Regions from separate parts of the Homo sapiens genome. Here region 1 is linked to region 2. Evidence: promoter capture Hi-C in human tissues and cell types (Jung and others, 2019). All regions are on one chromosome and are shown on one strand. Each heading gives the region's core, a stretch centred on a gene start or on the middle of the fragment in contact. The rest is flanking DNA. Distances are from core to core; before and after follow the strand shown. Region 1 overlaps VAMP1 (vesicle associated membrane protein 1). Region 2 holds the start of SCNN1A (sodium channel epithelial 1 subunit alpha).

Region 1 (3,820 bases), core at 1,321-3,820, 91 kb before region 2:
TCTGGGAATTCTTTAGGAGGTGAGTTTAGCCTCCATGTTTTGGGACATGGAGAGGAGTTTGTCTTGAAGACCACACACTAACTTTGAGTGGTACAGAATGAGAGAACATTCTCTGTGTGTATAGTACAGTAAACCAAGATCTCTCTTTGGGATGTAAGTAACCAAGGGAGTCATCTGAGACTGTCAAATCCAGAAAAGGAAGGGACAGAATGTCTATAATGCATGCACATTGAGGACAATTTCTAGCATTTTTGCTTCCTGTCTATGCTCTTGGAACAGTTTCCATAACTAATGTAATTGCTTTGGGCCCCAGATTCTATCTAAGTGAAACCCCCATTTTCTCTGCCAAAAACAAAGCAAACAAACAGTCCTGACTCACTCCACCTACATAGACTTTGCCTTTGGTGATTTTCCAAGCTGCCCTTATGGCAGCCCTGATTTCCTCATCTTGTGTGAAGCATAACCAATAACTGGGCATATAAACCAATAACCATAACCAATAACTTGAATATAAAAAGGGGTGAGCTGACAGACATTACAGTGTACAGCCTCCCTCCTGGCTCCCTTCACGGACTGGCATTGAGTGTCTGTGGCTTTTCCAGGCGCACGGTGCAAGCTACCAGTGGATCTACCATTCTGGGGTCTGGAGAATGGTGACCTTTTTCTCATAGCTCCACTAGGCAGTGTTCCAGTGGGGACTCTGTGTGGGGGCTCCAACCCCACATGTCCCTTCTGTACTACACTAGCAGAGGTTCTCCATGAGGGCCCTGCCCTTGCAGCAAACTTTTGCCTGGACATCCAGGCGTTTCCATACATCTTCTGAAGTCTAGACGGAGGTTCCCGAACCTCAGTTCTTGCCTTCTGTGCATCTGCAGGCTCAACACCATGTGGAAGCTGCCAAGGCTTGGGGCTTCCACCCTCTGAAGCCACGGCCCGAGCCCTGCATTGGCCCCTCTCAGCCACAGTGGGAGCGGCTGGGACACAGGGCACTAAGTCCCTAGGCTGCACACAGCATGGGGACCCTGGGCCTGGCCCACAAAATAACTTTTTCCTCCTGGGCCTCCAGGCCTGTGATGGGAGGGGCTGCTATGAAGGCTTCTGACATGGCCTGGAGACATTTTCCCCATGGTCTTAGGGGCTAACACTAGGTTCCTTGCTACTTATGCAAATTTCTGCAGCTGCCTTGAATTTCTTCTCAAAAAAATGGTTTTTTTCTTTAGTACTGCGTCTTTTCTTCTGCCAGATACCCTAAATTATCTCTCTCAAGTTCAAAGTTCCACAAATTTCTAGGGCAGGGGCAAAATGCTGCCAGTCTTTTTGCCAAAACATAACAAGAGTCACCTTTGCTTCAGTTCCCAACAAGTTCCTCATCTCCATCTGAGACCACCTCAGCCTGGACCTTATTGTTCATATCACTAACAGCATTTTTGTCAAAGCCATTCAACAAGTCTCTAGGAGGTTCCAAACTTTCCCGCATTTTCCTGTCTTCTTCTGAGCCCTCCAAACTGTTCCATCCTCTCCCTGTTAACCCAGTTCCAAAGTCGCTTCCACATTTTTGGGTATCTTTTCAGCAACACCCCACTCTACTGGTACCAATTTACTGTATTAGTCTGTTTTCATGCTGCTGATAAAGACATACCCAAGACTGGGAAGAAAAAGAGGTTTAATTGGACTTACAGTTCCACATGGCTGGGAAGGCCTCAGAATCATGGCGGCAGGTGAAAGGCACTTCTTACATGGCAGCAGCAAGAGAAAATGTGGAAGAAGCAAAAGCAGAAACCACTGATAAACCCATCAGATCTCATGAGACTTCGTCACTATCACCAGAATAGCACCGGAAAGATGGGCCCCATGATTCAGTTACCTCCCCTGAGTCCCTCCCACAACATGTGGGAATTCTGGGTGATACAATTGAAGTTGAGATTTGGGTGGGGACACAGCCAAACCATATCAGCGGGGAAATGCCATTTAGGACAAGGCTAGGCCATATGTCCCTGTAGCCATCATGGCAGAGGACTTGTTTGAGTTGAGTCAAAGGATAGCCCCAGATGAGATGTCTTGATGCCATCCTGGATGTCCCTGAACCCCATCCAAATGTTGTTGCAGAGTCTTTCATCTTTTACTTCTTGCCTCTATGGTTTGTCTCCCTACTTCAGATTGCCAAGGAGCAAGAATCCATTCTAGTTTTGTATAGCCTAATCATAATTGTTTAAGTGGTTTGGGGTGAGGATGCATGTGAGTCCTTTCTTTTTGTCTGTTTTTTTAGAGATGGGGTCTCGCTATGATGCCCAGGCTGGCCTCGAACTCCTGGGCTCAAGCGCTCCTCCCACTTCAGCCTCTTGAGTAGCTGGGACTACAGGTGTGTGCTACCACGCCCAGCTCCTTTCTTGTCTTGGTCACTTTGTGTACTCTGCACATGTCTTTCCACAGGTCTGCTCCAGCTCAGCCACCTGCTGAAGGGACAGAAGGGACTGCCCCAGGTGGGGGTCCCCCTGGCCCTCCTCCTAACATGACCAGTAACAGACGACTACAGCAAACCCAGGCACAAGTGGAGGAGGTAGGTAGATAGCTGTTTCTCTGAAAGTTTCCAAATCTAGGAGTTTGGAAACAAAAGGGAACTTCTTATCTTTTCTCCTTTTTTCGTAGGAGAATAGTCAAAGGCCCTGAGAGGCAAAGCACCCTTTAGAGTTGCACAGGGCCAGACTTGTGATTCTCTGGTTGTTGTCCTTTCCTCTGTCTCTGGCAGGAAGCTTAGCTGCTTTGTTTCTGTGCCCTCCTCAGGTGGTGGACATCATACGTGTGAACGTGGACAAGGTCCTGGAGAGGGACCAGAAGCTGTCAGAGCTGGATGACCGAGCTGATGCCTTGCAGGCAGGAGCATCACAATTTGAGAGCAGTGCTGCCAAGCTAAAGAGGAAGTATTGGTGGAAAAACTGCAAGGTGAATTTTCTTGTCCCCTCCTCCATCTTTTCCTGGGCTTCCACTGGTAGAAGGCAAGAAAACCCTCAGCTTCTACATTTCTTCCCTCTAATGGTGCAGGATCTCTCTGACCAGCATAACGCTTGGGAGGAAATCTGGAAAGCCTCCTCTTGAGATTGCATTACCCAGAATTGGCCACCAGGGTAGGCTAGAGTATTTAGAACCGCTATCAGGGAAAAAGTGATACCCTGAGGAGTTTGGAATGGTTAGTTAAGGAGCTTTACCCCAAAGGAGTTGCCTGCAAAAAATTTCACCTGTCTCATCCTCAGACACACCCAACATCAGCACAATGGCTCAGGCATATATACATACACACACACACACACACACACACACTATATATACACATATGTATATATACATATATATACATTTATATATATATATACATATATATACATTTATATATATATATACATATATATACATTTATATATATATATACTTTTTTCTTTTTCTTTTAAATCAGCTTTCTCAGATTGAAATATATATTTTTAAATAACTGCAACTTTTGAGAATGAGCTGAACACTTCACAGTGAAAATTGAACTAATTGGTTAAATATCCAGAGTCTGTATCTCTATTGGAATGCCTTCTAAAGCCCCAAGACACCAGGAACTAAGCAAAAAGGAGCTCAATGCAGGTCCTGTGATGAATCTGAAAAGCTACAGACATACTGTGGTTATGATCCCCTGGGAAGCAGAAGGGTAGGGCCTCTCTAAGAGGCCTGCAGGTCTCCTGGGTGATGGGTGGTTTTTTCCATTGTCCCAAGGATGGAAGGAATTCTGTTTCCCACTAGAGATGTGGCTCTTTTCCTCATTCCTGAAATCCAAGGGCTCATT
Region 2 (4,741 bases), core at 1,486-3,985:
ATAAGAAAATAAAAGCAAAAATGGAAGTTGTAGAAACATACCTATAGCATGGTCTCTGTCATAAAAAAGAACTATATATTTTGTTTTTTAAAAATACATGTAAGTTTATAAAGGCACACAAAAAGATATAGACAGATATACAAATTATGGTGGCTCCCCTTTGGGGAGGGAAAGGAAGGGGACTAAGGGAAGCTCTATATACTTCTGTATTGCTGAAAAATTGTACTGTGACAAAAACATATTTGTGTATTATTTGTACACTTTAAAAGATCATCTTTAAAATGGACTTCTGACCAAAGTCCAGGTCTCAGATTTCTATTTTCCTCACAACACCAAGCCTGTTCTAGCCCGCTCCAGGTCTAGAATGCTGCAGCACTAGGCTCGCATTGCCACTCCCATACCCGGCAGGACGTGGCAGGGTCACCACCCTTTGGCTCAGCCCAGACCAGGCATTGCAATTCTTCTCACAGAGCCCTTGATATGAAAACTATTTGCCATGCTGCCTTAAGCTAGTGGTTGGATTTCAGGCATGAGCTGGCAAATAGAAAAGGCAGGGAGGTGCTTTTCAGAACCTTTGAGATCAAACAGCCAGGGTGCTGAGCACCTTATTGCAGGGAGGACCATGCCCAATGTAAGGACCTGGCTCAAGGGAGACTGGAGTTTCTAGGGGTCTCTGGGATATGTGGGGCAGTGGGGACAGTGCAGAGACCTTTTCACAGAGCCAAGGAGATAACCCAGCACCCAGAGAGCAGACGAATCCACGGGCTCTGTGTGGGAGTGAGGGAGGCCTTCCCGGCTTTCACATCCAGGTGCACCTGAGCCCCGATCCCCCATGAGTCTGTCTCAGGAAGTAAATGGCAAAAGCGCTAAGTAGATAGCCCCAGAGGAGGAGGAGAATTCTGAATTCTGTTTATAGCTCTGCTCCTATTTTGTTTTCTAACCTCAGAAAACTGATTTATCCTTGGGAAGGGTCAGTTTCTTCATTAGGACAATGAAGAAAAATCCAGCTGTCCCTTCCAAGGGGAGGTATCATGAGCAGTATCAAGGTAAGCAAGGGAACCTGGTTTGGAATCCTGGTTGACACCGGCTTTCACTTTAAGAAGTCGCAAGAGACTGCCGCAAGAGAGGAAGCCACAGACCAGGTTGGACCCTGAGCCTGGAGTACTGCCTTTTCTCTTCTTTGCCTGCTAAACTCCTTGCTTGTCAAGATTCAGCAGAGATGACACCTTCTCTGGGAAGGCTTCCTGAGTCTCCTGCAGTGAGCCCCTAGGCTCCCCTAGCCCTTGGCTCTTATGTCTTATCTCTGAGAAATCTGAGATCTGCACTTTTGTTAGAAGTCCGTTTTAAAGACAATCTTTTAAAGTGTACAAATAGAAACCTTATCTTATTGTATTGCAGGCCTATCTCCTCCCCCGGTGTGTATCAATGCTCAGGCTGGGCCTTTGTCTGCTGGCTTGTGGAGGGAGGCAGGACAAGCCAGTGACCACATTCCTGCACTCTGGGCTGCCTCCTGTGGGGCCCGTGAGGAAGCGGCAGCCTTCCCTGCCGCGTGCAGGGCCTGGGTTGTGTGGGTGGCTCTCCCGAGTCTCCTCCAGCCCTTTTTGGGTCTGATTCTCTGACCCTCCTCTCTCTCCTTGCTCACCACTTGGCACTCCACTCCTTATCCTTTTGCTGCATTAAGTTTGGAAAGAGATTTTGGAGAAAATATAGCCCATCAACGAATTTCTCCTCCTCCCAGGGCCTGTCTAGGCGTGTGCCATGCCCACCCTCTTCCTTTCCAGCGCTGGCCACATCCTCCCTGCACCTTCAGTGCCTGCTTTCCCTGCCTCTTCCTGGGCTCCGGGTCTGTGTCCACAGTGTCCTGCGTGGCCCTCGCGCTGCCTCTGGTTGCCCACATTCCTGCAACTCTGTGACCACAGCAGGGGCGATTACACATTCCTGGCCTGGCAGCCAACAGTGTAAAAAAGAACAGAATGTCCTAGGGCCCCGCCTAGCCCCCAGCTTCACCTGGGCCCCTCCCGGGTCTGGACAAGGTTGGAGGGGGTGGCGAGGAATCAGCAGGAAAGAGGAGGGACCAGGAGGAGGCAGACGCATCCCACCTGAGTGCGCTGCTCCCACTTAGTGAGCGGGGAGGAGACCTGCAGAGACCTCTTCTCTCTTCTCTGCAGGGCCTGAGGGTGAGGCTGACCTGTGGGTGCCCTTGGAGGGCTGCCCACTTGCTGAGCCTCTAGCTCCTGGAAGCACACTTGGGACTCCCCCCTTGCTCTCCTTCCTGGAGACAGACTCCCTTTGGTGCTGGCTCCTTCTATTTGCCCCCACCACTGCCCCCCACCTGCCTCTACTCACTCAGTGCCCCTCCTCCATCCCTATCTCTCTGTCCTTCGCTGTCCCTCTCTATTGTCTCCCTCTTTCTGCCCTCCTGTCCTCCCGGTTCCCCACCCAGGCCCTCTCAGCCTGGCTGGCCCCTTCTCCTTGTGTTGCCCTCCTAGCTGTGGGCTCAGGATCCTTCTACTTGTTCAGATCTTTGCCCCTCACCTGCCATCCTGTCCCCCAGCCTCCTTGCCTGTCTGCGTCTAAAGCCCCTGCCCAGAGTCCGCCTTCTCAGGTCCAGTACTCCCAGTTCACCTGCCCTCGGGAGCCCTCCTTCCTTCGGAAAACTCCCGGCTCTGACTCCTCCTCAGCCCCTCCCCCCGCCCTGCTCACCTTTAATTGAGATGCTAATGAGATTCCTGTCGCTTCCATCCCTGGCCGGCCAGCGGGCGGGCTCCCCAGCCAGGCCGCTGCACCTGTCAGGTGAGGGGGAGGAGAGGTTTGGCTGCCAGATTCAACTGGAAAGGAACCAGTCCCAGTCCAGCCGCAACCTGGGAGTGGGAAGCTGGAGGCAGCCCAGACCTCCTGGAGCCCTGCAGTCCTGGGGCAGAGACAGAATCAGGACACAGCTCGAGGTCAGGGCCAGAGGCTGGAGCTGAGGGCCTAGAGTGAGAGGGGGCAAGGCAAGGGGGGGAGAGGAAGAGAGGCAGGATTAGAGAGAGGAGGCAGGCCAGAAAGAGGAGAGCAGGAGAGACCCAAAGAGAAACAGAAGGCAGATAGAGAGGGAGTGAGAGGCAGGAGCTGAGACACAGATCCTGGAGGAAGAAGACCAAAGGAAGGGGGCAGAGACAGAAAGGGAGGTGCTAGGACAAAACTCGAAAGGTGGCCCTATCAGGGAAGCAGAGGAGAGGCCGTTCTAGGGAAGCCCAGCTCCGGCACTTTTGGCCCCAACTCCCGCAGGTCTGCTGGCTCCAGGAAAGGTGGAGGAGGGAGGGAGGAGTGGGAGAATGTGGGCGCAGGGTGGGACATGGGCATGGCCAGGGGCAGCCTCACTCGGGTTCCAGGGGTGATGGGAGAGGGCACTCAGGGCCCAGAGCTCAGCCTTGACCCTGACCCTTGCTCTCCCCAATCCACTCCGGGGCTCATGAAGGGGAACAAGCTGGAGGAGCAGGACCCTAGACCTCTGCAGCCCATACCAGGTCTCATGGAGGGGAACAAGCTGGAGGAGCAGGACTCTAGCCCTCCACAGTCCACTCCAGGGCTCATGAAGGGGAACAAGCGTGAGGAGCAGGGGCTGGGCCCCGAACCTGCGGCGCCCCAGCAGCCCACGGCGGAGGAGGAGGCCCTGATCGAGTTCCACCGCTCCTACCGAGAGCTCTTCGAGTTCTTCTGCAACAACACCACCATCCACGGCGCCATCCGCCTGGTGTGCTCCCAGCACAACCGCATGAAGACGGCCTTCTGGGCAGTGCTGTGGCTCTGCACCTTTGGCATGATGTACTGGCAATTCGGCCTGCTTTTCGGAGAGTACTTCAGCTACCCCGTCAGCCTCAACATCAACCTCAACTCGGACAAGCTCGTCTTCCCCGCAGTGACCATCTGCACCCTCAATCCCTACAGGTCGGTTAGTCCCTCTGCCCCTTCCCTGGTGCCTGCGCCTGGAAGGGTGGTCCAGGGTGCTGAGGTGCTCACTGGGCAGGCAGAGCCTCAGACCTGAGGGTGGGAACTGACACCCCTGTCCCAGGTAGAGCTCACTGCTGGCAAAATGAGGAGCCTCCAGCTTACTGGACTGGCGTCCCTGCCCAGTGGAGCCATCCTAGCACCCCAGGCTCACCCAGAGTGTGGTTGTTGGAGCAGCATTGCCCTCCCCTGCCCTCTCTTCTCCTTCCCTCCCATTCCCTTCTCCCTCCTGCAAGTGGGAGGGAGTGCTTGCAAAAGGGCAGGGGTGTGCTCAGCTGCATCCCTTTTCTGGAGCAAGATGCCAGCAAAGTATAAGACCTCGTCCACCTCAGCAGGAGAGTCTGATGGAGGGGTGAGGCTAGGTGAGGGGAGGCGAGACCGTGCAGGTGCTGTGGAGGTGGTGCTGTCAGTCTTTGTTTAGAAGGGGAATTTATTATGGAGAAAGCAAAGAGGGGGATCGTGGAGGTTAGGGCTGCAAGTGAGCCCAAAGGCTGGGGGCAGGGGCCTTACAGAACAAGGAGAATGGGTCAGGCTAGAGAGCAGCTCCTTGTGAAGCTCTTCCCCCAAAAGACCCAGGCTAAAATGCTGCACTGTTGACCTGCCCAGGTGCCTGACCTTTACGTGCTTGGGTGTGTCCTGAACTTTTGGGTTTCATCGGTGCTCTTTGCCAATGTTGGGTCTGGAAACCGGAGCAGGTGGTAAGCGTGGAGAAGAGAGGAGGGCAGGGCTGAGTGCTTTTGTATACCTTTTA

Evidence for each region. Contacts are between HindIII fragments. The study calls those that stand out against the background at their distance.
Region 1: a fragment that was not itself captured here is called in contact with the fragment with the promoter of SCNN1A in region 2 in 4 of the 25 tissues and cell types used here (liver, lymphoblastoid cells, mesendoderm cells and 1 more).

Annotation. Positions count from the first base shown.
Region 1 is chr12:6,464,962-6,468,781 of GRCh38, reverse strand. VAMP1 (vesicle associated membrane protein 1) reads left to right here. Exons shown (of 5, transcript NM_014231.5): 2 at 2,431-2,557; 3 at 2,782-2,940. It also overlaps a transcript of TAPBPL not described here. Among named protein-coding and RNA genes, the nearest start is that of VAMP1, 3.8 kb to the left of the region's middle. The HindIII fragment of the contact is 4,857 bases long and covers 142-3,820 here.
Region 2 is chr12:6,373,557-6,378,297 of GRCh38, reverse strand. SCNN1A (sodium channel epithelial 1 subunit alpha) reads left to right here and starts at 2,735. Exons shown (of 13, transcript NM_001038.6): 1 at 2,735-2,793; 2 at 3,461-3,930. The coding sequence starts at 3,515. It overlaps LOC105369626 (a long non-coding RNA gene), which reads right to left. Exons shown (of 4, transcript XR_931591.3): 4 at 4,723-4,741. It also overlaps a transcript of LTBR not described here. RefSeq lists enhancers at 1,303-1,907, 3,724-4,328. The HindIII fragment of the contact is 22,523 bases long and covers 1-4,741 here.